2 separate regions of the Homo sapiens genome follow, and region 2 is linked to region 1. Evidence: promoter capture Hi-C in 16 types of primary human blood cells and fetal thymus (Javierre and others, 2016). All regions are on one chromosome and are shown on one strand. Each heading gives the region's core, a stretch centred on a gene start or on the middle of the fragment in contact. The rest is flanking DNA. Distances are from core to core; before and after follow the strand shown.

Region 1 (5,863 bases), core at 1,682-4,181:
AATGAAAAAGCTGGAAAATGACAGAATCTTGTATTTTCCCTCCCCCTCTTAACCACTGTCTTCATTTGGAGATCTTATTCAGGAGGCAAAAGAGGAAACCTGGATTGTGAAATGTCAACAGTCATCTTGCACAGAAGAAAAGCAGAAACGTTTTACAGTTAACACTATTGACCCCAAGATTTCTGACCTGACAAAATTCCTGCACCAGCATTTTCTAATGCTATATTTTTTCCACCCAAAACAACTTATCTGCAATAAAATTATTTCATAAAACAAGACACAGGACAAAGATGTTCTCTGTTACTACCCAGGTATCTTGAACTGCATAAGAGAAAAAGGTGAATGGAGGAAGATTCACTATATTATTTTTCATGCTTTAATATCAAAAACCATAGCCAAGGCTTCTAAGAGCCTTTTCAAAGATTTTTATGGCCCTTCCTTCATAATTAATTTGGCAACCAACCCAGGAACCAGTACATAGCCCCATTAACATCTAGGGGAGGCCCCACTATCTACTGAAGCATATATTGATGCTGATACAAATAATCAGTGTCTTATGCAGCTTATGTACACCAATTATATGTCAGATTCTTGACATATACAGTTTTTAACCCACACGTGAGGTAACTGAAGGAAACTTAATGTCTAAAGTAGTTAAGAACTTTAATACCTTCTCAGGAAACTCTGTCTTTAGGTTTAGTTCTGCAGCTGAAAAAGGGAATATTTCTGGACCAAACATTTCTTTAAAATATCAAATGAGACGCTGGAAGCTATGTGAGAGTGGAGGGTTGGAGAAGGGAGAGGATCAGAAAAAATAACTATTGGATACTAGGCATAGTACTTAGGTAACAAAATGATCTGTACAACAAACGCCTGTCACAGGAGTTTACCTATATAACAAGCCTGTACCTATACTCCTGAACCTAAAATTAAAGTTTTAGAAGAATAAAAAAAAAAAAGAGAATCTTAATGCATTATATCAGAGTGTTCAAAAGGTCCCAGAGAAAAATGCAGTAATTATGGAAGATGTAACTTGTAAACATGAAAATTATGGAAGATATAAATTGTAAAACTATCAATACAAAATTTCACTATTTAATTCCAGGCACATTTTCTAGATTGGCTTTTACAATCTGAGAGAACTACTCTCACTAATTAAAAACTATTTATTAATTTAAATCCACATGCTTGACAACCCTGACTCTATCATCCCCAATTTTTAGTGAGACAGCTTCACTTATTAGAAATTTAGTCTTCATATTTTTGTAATTTAGGGAGATTAAAATATGAGCATACAAACTTTATAACAGCAATTTTCATTGCAAGATGTTTTTAATTGTTTAAAAAAACAAACAAAAACTTGCAGAAATGTTCCTATTCACTTGCTCTTCTCAGGATACTAGCACAAGTGATCAGGAAAGGAATAAGTCAATATTAATTATTACCAGGTCTCGCCAATTATTATTGGTGCCTATTGCAAGTAATCTTTTACACTTCTATGTATAAGTGTGTCTTTTCCAAAGGATGTTTCGAAGCACAGCTGGCTACAGAGATTAGCAGCTGAGGGCCCACTTATTCTCCAGTACCAACTCATAGCTCTCACCATCACAAATACACTACAAATCCTAACTTGGAATAAATCTGCTTTAAGAAAATGCTGGAGTAATGAACAAAGTTCAGTGCCATGAATCAGAAACCTAAGCATCAGAGAAGGAGTGGCTGGTCACAACTGTCATAGCCATGTGACTTGGGGCAATCACCGAGCCTTCTGGGTCTGTCTCCTCTTCTGCAAATGAAGGAATTAGGCCAGATGACCTAGGGTCCCTCCAGCCTGAAGTCAAAATGGAAGCAGGCAGCAATGTGTGCTATTTAACCCCCCTTACAGGTAGAACATTGTAGGTTAAAACGTGAAACAAATGAGTAGCCTAAAACAGACTCACATTCACTGTTCATTCAACTAAAAAGCTAAGCACCTGAAGGAAGGCACTACGTTCAGCTCATTTCTGAAACAATCCACTCACTAAGGTTAGTGTGAGCATATCTGTGTATATAGGTGTTGCCCACAGGACACCAAGTCCTATGTGTGAATTCACATCCCGGGGAGCTTTCACAACCACACAGCACACACTCAGCATCCGAAGAAAGACAAACAGCACTAAGAAAATTCAATTTTCATGATGCACACCAGGGAGGCTAAGCCTTTTTCAGTACCCTAATCTTTAAAATGGTGCATCTACCACCTCGATGCCACATTATGCAAATTTACTAAGAATTGTGAGTGAAGAGATTTCAGCCCAATTAAAAAAAGATAAGGTTTTTTTTAAACGTGTCAATTCCAAGAAGATGGCCCAAGAAATAAGCCGTAATTACTCTATCATTATATCAACTCTTTAATCACTTTTTTCCCCTTGCCTCCCAAAAAAAGAACTGAGGGGAAGTGGAATTTAAATAAAAAATGAATAGTCCCTCCAAGAAACCTCCATAGAAGAGGAGTATATCTTCTGACAGAACACATCTGTGTGCCTCTTAAAAAGGATATTCTAAATCTGGAGGGAGTTAGCTTAGATCCCCACCTTCCAGGCCCTGCCATCTGGAATTCTCAGACCCGTAATATCAAACTGTAAGGAAGCCGGGGCTGGATGAGTATCCCCACTCCCCTAACCCCACTCCAACATTCTATGTGCTACCACGCTCCCCTATTTCAACCCAACTGGTTGAACAGGAAACATTCCTAAGATGAGCAGGTAGCCGGTGGAGCTGAACCCAAGTCTCCCCAGCCCATGTCCACTGACACCCTGGTAAGTGGCACCTTCGCTCACCTTCTTCACAAGGTAGCCCTCTCTGATCCGCTTTGGTTCCATGCTGGCTGGACAGGCAGATGCAAAGGTCACTCTCAGGCAACTCCTCTCAGCAGCTGGGCCTCCTCTGCATGCTGAGGTGGCTGTGGGCCGCCTTTTCTACAGCAGGTCGCTTTCACAATTTCCCTTCTGCTGGCGGTCGCATGATCACATCCTCTTCCCCTCACTGGGTTGGAAGATCAGAATAAGGAACTGCAGAGTAAACCACCCATTCCTTGCTAATGCTGGAGACTTATTAAAACCACAGTTGGGTTGAATATTTACCTAAGGGAAATTCTTACTACCATACAGAAAATCCCTCTTTTAAAGAGAAAAAGAAGTGATGAAAGGAAGAGGAAGATGAACAAGAAAAACTTGTTGGTGAAAATTGTCCTGAGTAAGGATTATTCTTGAGATCCTGGAAATGCCCAATAAAAATGCCAAGAAATTCAGAACCATCTGGTTAGCATAACAAAGTTAACTACTAAATGAATGCCTACTTCTCTCTATGCCAAGCCCTGTATCAAGTGTTTCTCAGCCTACTTATTTTAAACTAAATTAGTCTGCACATCGGCCAGGCATGGTAGCTCACGCCTGTACTCCCAGCACTTTGGGAGGCCAAGGCAGATGGATCACCTGGGGTCAGGAGTTCAAGACCAGCCTGGCCAACATGGTGAAACCTTGTCTCTACTAAAAATACAAAAATTAGCCGGGCATGGTGGCGTGTGCCTGTAGTCCCAGCTACTCGGGAGGCTGAGGCAGCAGAATCACTTGAACCTGGGAGGCGGAGGTTGCAGTGAGCCGAGATTGGTCCACTGCACTCCAGCCTGGGCGACAGAGAAAGACTTCATCTCAAAACAAACAACAACAAAAATGAGTCCACACATCAAACCCATAGGGAAAGTATATTATTTTCCTTATCTTAGAGTAAGGAAACTCAGGCTCAGAGAAGAAAAGTTGTCTCAAGTTGACGCTGCAGGTCACAGGGGAAAGCAGAAGAACCAGGGAGGGATGTGCTAGGGTGCCACTGCCTCACATCAGGCATGAGAACAGGTGTTCCACGTTGAGTGCTGATCTCACAGTCAGCCTGTAAAAAGAAGTCCATCATCAAACAGGTTTTTGAGAAACTTTACAAAATAATCCCAGGTTGGCAACTCCTCTAAATGATGAACAAATTAAAGACCTTCGCCCCGCCAAAGTACTACAGTAAAGAATCCTATAATGGTGTTTTCCAAACTTACTTCGCCATAGCATTCTTTTTTGAACAATTTATGTTAACTTTTTTTGTCATAAATTGAATTAGATCTCCCAAAAAAGAAGTCCTAACCCTTAGCACTTCAGAATGCATCCTTATTTGGAAATAGGGTCATTGTAGATATAATTAGTTAAGATGAGGTCATACTGAAACAAGTGGGCCCTTAATCCAATGTGACTGGTGTCCTTATAAGAAAAGGGCACACAGAAAACAGCCATGTGACAACAGAGTGATGCATTTACAAGCCAAGGAACGCCAAGGATGGCCAGCAACCCCCAGAAGCTGGAAGAGGCACGCAACAATTCTCTCCTAGAGTTGCTATAGAGAACATGGTGCTGACGACACCTTGATTTCAGACTTACGGCCTCCAGAACTGTAAGACAATAAATTTCCATTGTTTTAAGCCACCAGTTTGTGGTACTTTGTTATGGCAGCCCCAGGAAACCAATATAATCCTGAAAAACGAATATTCCATAGAATAAACTTAGAGACCCGTTAATCTGACCATGTGAAAATGAGCAAGTTTGTTATTACTTTGTGCCTCAGTTTTCTCATCTGTAATACGGGGATAATAACACCTATCCAATGAGGTCATTCTGAAGATTAAATGAGATAGACATGGAAGTATTTAGAAGAGTGTCTGAAACATAACTAGTATCCATAAATATTAGTTGTTCTTCATCTTCAAGGCAAATCTCCGTTATCCTAGAGCTGATCCTTTTCAATGATAAGTTCAACAGAGATGATGAAAGCAATCGTAGGACTAGATTTTCCTCATTACACCCGTCAGTGTTCTTTCACTGCAATCAACAGATAACAACTCTGGCTAATAGAGGCAAATAGGAATTTACTGGAAGAGAATGGAGTGGCCCACAGACTGCAGGAAAAATGAAGACTGGGGTCTTTGAAAGGACAGGAATCAGGGCAGTTGTGGGGTTCCAGGAAGCAAGACACCAAGATGAAAGAATGCCAGTGGTTTTCAGACTCTGCAGTAGTCTCCAGGGATCAGGCCTCTGATTGGCCTAACTTGGCCTAGTGCTTCTCTCTCCGGTATCTGAAGGGGGAACATGTGAACCGACAGCCCCAGCAGGACCATGCTCAATGGGAGAAGGGAGGTGTCCCCTAAAGTAAAATCAAGATGCTATTAACAATAGATGAGCGATGGCTCCGAGAAAGGCAAAACTGACAGACGTCCACGAGGGCATCTGAGGAGCCAGGAAAGTTAGGGGAAAGAAGAAGTTCTGTTCTTGGGGTTTTCTGAGAGCTTCCTGATTCCCTCTCCTCTTCCCTCCAGCTGTGTTTCTAGCTAACAGTCACTGCCCCTGTATTTCTCACTTTTCATTTTATGCTAATATCCATTACTTAAAATCGTTGATGGTTTCTTTTCAGTTTCTCATTGCACCAAAATTAATTAGAAATTGTTATAAAGTGTTGGGGGCTGAGAGTAGAGGGATCAACGTTTGATGTCACCTGAGCAAAACAGGAACAAATAAAAGGGTAATTTTCTGTATCTGCACTCAAACAAGTATTTTGCTATGTCTGTATAGTCAATGGAAACCACTCTTAGATTTACCAAGTCTGATTTCATAGTTAAATATATCTCCTTTTGTTTAACTGACCAAGTGACTTCTAATTTGGAATGTCTTCACTGTTTGTCCTAGCATGATCAGAAGGCTTTAAAGAACCCTCACTCAGAAACCTCATATTATTTTTGGATGCCTCCGGTGTAAAAGCACCCCCTGCGTTCCGAATAATTCATTTCAAGAAACAT
Region 2 (5,863 bases), core at 1,759-4,258, 240 kb after region 1:
CTGATTAGAGTTGTCCACAGTCAGCGATGGTGATCTTGCTGGTCTTGCCATTCCTGGACCCAAAGTGCTCCATGGCCTCCACAATATTCATGCCTTCTTTCACCTTGCCATAGACTACATGGTTGCCATCCAACCACTCAGTCTTGGCAGTGCAGATGAAAAACTGGGAACCATCTGTGTTGGGTCCAGCGTTTGCTATGGACAAGATGCCAGGACCTTTATGCTTCAGGATGAAGTTCTCGTCATCAAATTTCTCCCCATAGATGGACCAGTGCCATTATGGCGTGTGAAGTCACCACCCTGACACATAAACCCTGGAATAATTGTGTGAAAGCAGGAACCCTTATACCCAAATCCTTTCTCTCCAGTGCTCAGAGCACAGAAGTTTTCTGCTGTCTTTGGAATCTTGTCTGCAAACAGCTTGATGGAGATGCGGCCCAAGGGCTCACTGTCGATGGCAATTTCTAAGAACACGGTGGAGTTGACCACGCTGGTAGTACAGGGCTTCCGGTGGCGTTGGCATCTGCTAGCTATGTTTTTTTAAAAGGCAGGTTGGTTATGCTTACCCAGGAAACCTCTATCTCCGAATGTCTGGCCACTCTCACTGTGTTGTGGAGCCCCACCTCCCTGCTTTGGATGAGACTAGACTGCCAGGCGCCATTCTCAGGGCCATACCCAGCAGTCCCAATAAAACGGGGCTTAATGCTGCTCTGAGAGCTTGGGGGCACTGGGCCCATGCTGCACTCAGACTTATCAGGACCTGCTAACAGAAGTCCTGTGCATTGTCCAACCAGCTGAGGACTCAGGGCTGCTAGGACAATGTCCTCTATTATTCCACCCTAAGTACCTGCATATTGCCTGGAGTGGTGAGAAATTCTTTACTCATCCATTTTCCCTACTGGGTCTAGGATGGACAAATGGCAGTATGAAAACTGTGAATCTTTGTTACTGTGTAGGGATCTAGAGGCTAAACCCTTGTCCTCAACCCCAGAACCAGAAAAATGGTTATTAATCAGGACAGCACAGTGAAAGCAGATGCAGATTATCCTCACAGTGCATGGCCATTAATGCAGTTGTCCATAGGTTTTGTATATTTTACATCAAACATCAAGCTTGAATGAAGGAACAGGATTTTGACTTTGTGTTTTTAACTTGAAGCATGAGATTCTAGGTAAAAGGGCTGTGACCAAGTACAGCTGCATTTATACAGTCATGGTGGAGGAATTTTATGAAGGATTCTTTAACAACTGAACTTTGCTTATGGTGTTCTGATCCAACTCTATCCCTAAGCCAACTTAAAACCAGATCACTCAGCAATACCCTTTATACAACACTTTTTTATTTTAATTGAGACTGAGTCTTGCTCTGTCACCCAGGAAGAGTGCAGTGGCGTGATCTTGGCTCACTGTAACCTCCGCCTCCTGGGTTCAAGCACTTCTCCCACCTCAGCCTCCCAAGTAGCTGGGATTACAGGCATGTGCCACCACGCGCAGTTAATTTTTTTTATTTTTAGTAGGGATGGGGTTTCGCCATGTTGGCCAGGCTGGTCTCAAACTCCTCACCTCAAGTGATCTGCCTGCCTCGGCCTCCCAAAGTGCTGGGATTATAGGCATGAGCCACTGCCCCTGGCCCCTTAATACAACATTTAATAAATGTTGGGCCAGGCGCAGTGGCTTACGCTTGTAATCCTAGCACTTTGGGAGGCCAGGAGTTCAAGACCAGCCTGGGCAACATAGTGAGACACTGTCTCTACAGAAAATTTTTTTTTTAAATTAGCTGGGTGTGGTAGCACAGCTTATAGTCCCAGCTGCTTGGGAGGCTGAGGCAGGAGGATCACTTGAGCCAAGGAGGTTGAAGCTGCAGTGAGTGGTGACTGTGTTACTGCACTCCAGCCTGGGGAAAATGAGAGACCCTGTCTCAAAAATAAATAAATAAATAAAAGCAAATGTTGGTGGGTGATTAAAATGATAAAATAATGATAAAACAAGTAATTAGGAAAAAAAAGTCCATCTTAACCTCTGGCCTGTTTTTTGAAGGCATTGTTGTTGATTAGGGTTAGGTTCAGCTGCGGGTAACTGAAAACCCAAAATAAAGATTACGCATTATCCAGTGTGCCTGTTCCAGTTGAACCATCACATCCACATTCCAGACATCAGAAAAGTAGGAAAAGTAAGAAAAAGAACATCTTGCACTTTGAAGAGCACTTTTGCTTGTATCCATTGGTGATGATTTGGTCCTGTGTCTCGGTCTCACCTATCACAGTGAGACCGAGAAGCATAAACCTGATTGTGTGCAGTGTTATACCCGGCTACCATTTGGGAGTTCTGGTCCTGAGGAAGTAGGGAAATGGATGTTGGGAGGTGTAACTGGATTCTGCCGCCCTGACAGAGCCGTCAAGCACGGCCTCCCTGGCTGCGTCCTCCCATGAGGTGAAAACTAGGGCGCTACCAATGCGTGCTTCCTTAGGCCAGATCTGGGTCTTGGCACCCAATACTCCCTTTTGGCAATTGTATCTTCTCCATCAGCTCTTGTAAACCAGACACCATGGAATCCCTTGGTTTTTTAAGTTACTTTTATTATCCTTTATGTGCACCAATGCAAGCCCAGCCCAGTACAAAAACAGGAAAGGAAAACTCCCCCTACACACTCAAATTGATCTTCATACTACATTTCTTTTCTTGGGAATTTGTTTGTACTTAATAATAACTTCTTTCGAATCCCAAATACCTTTTCCACTCAGGGGCAGTACAAAGTCACGCGCAGTAGAACATGAACGGCGCAGCTTACCTCATGCGTGTCCATAAACTCACCAAAGGAACTTGAAGGGAGAACAGTGTCTTTATGATCCGGCGTGTCTTGGTACCTGCTTAAAGTCACTTTTGCTTGTGATTTAGCTGGATACACTTTGCATATATACATGAAAAATAATTTTTTTTCTGGGAATGTCTAAGGACTATCCAACACACAAAATGATTTCATCCTTTTCTGAATGAGAACAGCCCGAAAGTTTCTGGCAAATACGCAGGGTTCGTGAGATATGAAATTCAATTATGTCGTGGTACATAAGGTCCGCCTCTTCACGACTTTCAGTGGATTTTCTTCCCCTGGGAAGGAGGCCCCTCAGCCGCACGTTCCGAATCCCAGGCCGTCCTTGTACCTGAAGACCCAGTGGTGCGCTGCCCCCTTGTGGGAGATGTGGGCATTGCAGACCTTTCAACACAAGGAAACGGAATTTGTCTTTCAAATGCAGCTGGAAAAATCTATCCTGTTTAATTCCCAGGAGGCACGCAAGCCAAACTGGACCTTGAGAAAGACATTATCTTACAGAAATGTCTTCCAAAAATGTGATTGTGTTTATGAAGAAAACCCACTTTGTATATAACAACACTGCATAGCATGCCTATGCTTCTTTTTACAGAATGGGTTTTTTAACCAAAAGTTGGATCATTAGCTTTATTATAGATTCAGTCTTACTGGTAGCATCACAAGGCTAACTTCCAAGAGAAAATATTTGGCTTTTTATAAAGTGAGGAATTATTTTGTAAAGTAAATAGTACATGCCTCTATCTCCTACCAACCGTTTATTCTGTAAATTCTGATTTTAACGAAGCATTTCTCAGAGTAAGGACTTCTTTATACCATCACTTAACTTCCTGCAGGAATTCTAGAATTTCTCTCCATCTTCTTTGCACCAGATCCAATGTTTTGTTTTGTTTTGTTTTGTTTGAGACAGAGTTTTGCTCTTGTTGCCCAGGCTGGAGTGCAATGGCACGATCTCAGCTCACTGCAACCTCCGCCTCCTGGGTTCAAGCGATTCTCCTGACTCAGCCTCCCAAGTAGCTGAGATTACAGGCGCCCACCACCACGCCCGGCTAATTTTTGTATTTTTAGTAGAGACGGGGTTTCTCCATGTTGATCAGGCTGGTCTCGAACTCCTGACCTCGAGTGATCCGCCTGCCTCGGCCTCCCAAAGTGCTGGGATTACAGGCATGAACCACCGTGCGCAGCCATATAGCCACTGTTTTTAAAAGCCATTTCTGCACTACCAAGTTAGTGAGTAGCAGCCCTCCACCTGCCCACCTTTGGCGTATGGACCATGCAGCTAAAAGAAGCAACACAAAATAAACTGTGGTCAAAAGAGACTCACAGTTCTCCCTCACACCGGAGGCTGAAGACACTCACACTTCCTCCTTTTAAGTCTTCAACTTTTCTTCTTTATGACACCCAAGGCTTTCATGGCCAGTCAGAACGTCAGTGCCAGAAGAGGCCTTTGAGACCTCTGCACTCAATTTCTGCATTTGAAGACAGACCCAGGCCCTCATCTCCTGACCCCTCATCCAGTGATATTCTCCTGCACCTCCCTGAGGAGTTGCTCAACACTCTGATCCCTCCGAGAAGCCTGGGGTACCTCTAAATTTAACATGCCAGAAACCGAGAACTCTATGCAAACAACACCACTGCTCAGAGGTGATAAGGGTAAGCAAATAAACCACCAGGGAGAAACAGAAGCAGAGTTTTGGCTCTCACCACCCTGTAGATAAACAAGTGTTTGATCTGGGCTGAGCACATCCCTCATCTGGTGAGAGATAACATTCACACTCAGAGGGAGTCTGTGCTTGCAGCCAACAGGTTTGGAACCCTATTGAGCGCTGACCTGGCCGCACACAGACTGAACTAGGGCTCAGGAATGATGGACCAGGGGAAATTTTGTTACCACCCAGGGGGAAAGAGAGGGTCTTCCTGCATTCCTAAGAGCTCACAGGCTAAAGGGCCCTAAGAAAGCAGACACAGAAGACACAGAAGCCTCAGCTAAGGGGGAGTCCTGACGGCCACAGTCCCCACTAATCCACTATGGGCCACTTAGGGCTTGTTGTGAATTTTCCAATCTGTTCCGTAAAGCTTCCTAGGAAGAATGTCAGAAGCCTTATTCTCTTGCTCTCGGTTGAGGCTATGGAAGCTAAAGAAAGCAGTATATGCCAGGCGAGGTGGCTCACACCTGTAATCCCATCACTTTGGGAGGCCAAGGCAGGTGGATCAATTGAGGCCAGAAGTTTGAGACCAGCCTGGCCAACATGGTGAAACCCCATCTCTATTAAAATACAAAAAATTAGCTGCATGTGGTGGCATGCACCTGTAGTCCCAGCTACTTAGGAGGCTGAGGCAGGAGAATCGCTTGAACCTGGGAGGCAGAGGTTGCAGTGAGCTGAGATCACGCCACTGCACTCCAGCCTGGGTGACAGAGTGAGACTCCATCTCCAAAAAAAAAAAAAAAGAAAGAAAGAAAGACAGTGAATGAGGAGTAAACTTGGAGGGAAACCAGTGGCCTGTCTCTAGAGTCTTGATCAGGATCACATTTATAAAGATGATAATGTTGACAATAATAATAATAGCTGCTAATATTTGTGGAGTGCTTACTATATTGTTTCTCTCATGTTGTATTTTTAAATCCCCACCACAAAACTCTGGGGTAAATACTATAGTTTGTTGTTGTTGTTGTTTTGAGATGGAGTCACTCTGTTGCCCAGGCTGGAGTGCACTGGCATGATCTCGGCTCACTGCAACCTCCACCACCCAGGTTCAAGCGATTCTCCTGCCTCAGCCTCCCGAGTAGCTGGGATTACAGGCGTGAGCCACCATGTCTGGCTAATTTTTGTACTTTTAGTAGACATGGGGTTTCACCATGTTGGCCAGGCTGGTCTTGAACTCCTAACCTCAGGTGATCCACATGCCTTGGCCTCCCAAAGTGCTGGGATTACAGGCGTGATAATAAACTCTTAACCTCACCATTTTTGTATATAAGTGGAGGTCGTCAGAGCACTTTTTTCATCCATTTTGCTACTTGGACTTAAGGATGAAAGTCCTA

Evidence for each region. Contacts are between HindIII fragments. The CHiCAGO score rates a contact against its expected background, and 5 or more counts as called.
Region 2: a contact is called between a fragment that was not itself captured here and the fragment with the promoter of PLEK in region 1, in 1 of 17 cell types (monocytes). The highest score is 6.2, in monocytes.

The regions. Positions count from the first base shown.
Region 1 is chr2:68,362,350-68,368,212 of GRCh38, reverse strand. It overlaps PLEK (pleckstrin), which reads right to left and starts at 2,931. Exons shown (of 9, transcript NM_002664.3): 1 at 2,820-2,931. The coding sequence starts at 2,861. LOC101927723 (a long non-coding RNA gene) reads left to right here and starts at 1,809. Exons shown (of 2, transcript NR_187652.1): 1 at 1,809-2,798; 2 at 5,754-5,863. RefSeq lists an enhancer at 2,892-2,971. The HindIII fragment of the contact is 25,233 bases long and covers 1-5,863 here.
Region 2 is chr2:68,119,889-68,125,751 of GRCh38, reverse strand. It overlaps the pseudogene PPIAP64. Among named protein-coding and RNA genes, the nearest start is that of DNAAF10, 35 kb to the left of the region's middle. RefSeq lists enhancers at 3,021-3,315, 4,164-4,243, 4,254-4,423, 4,654-4,813. The HindIII fragment of the contact is 3,787 bases long and covers 1,115-4,901 here.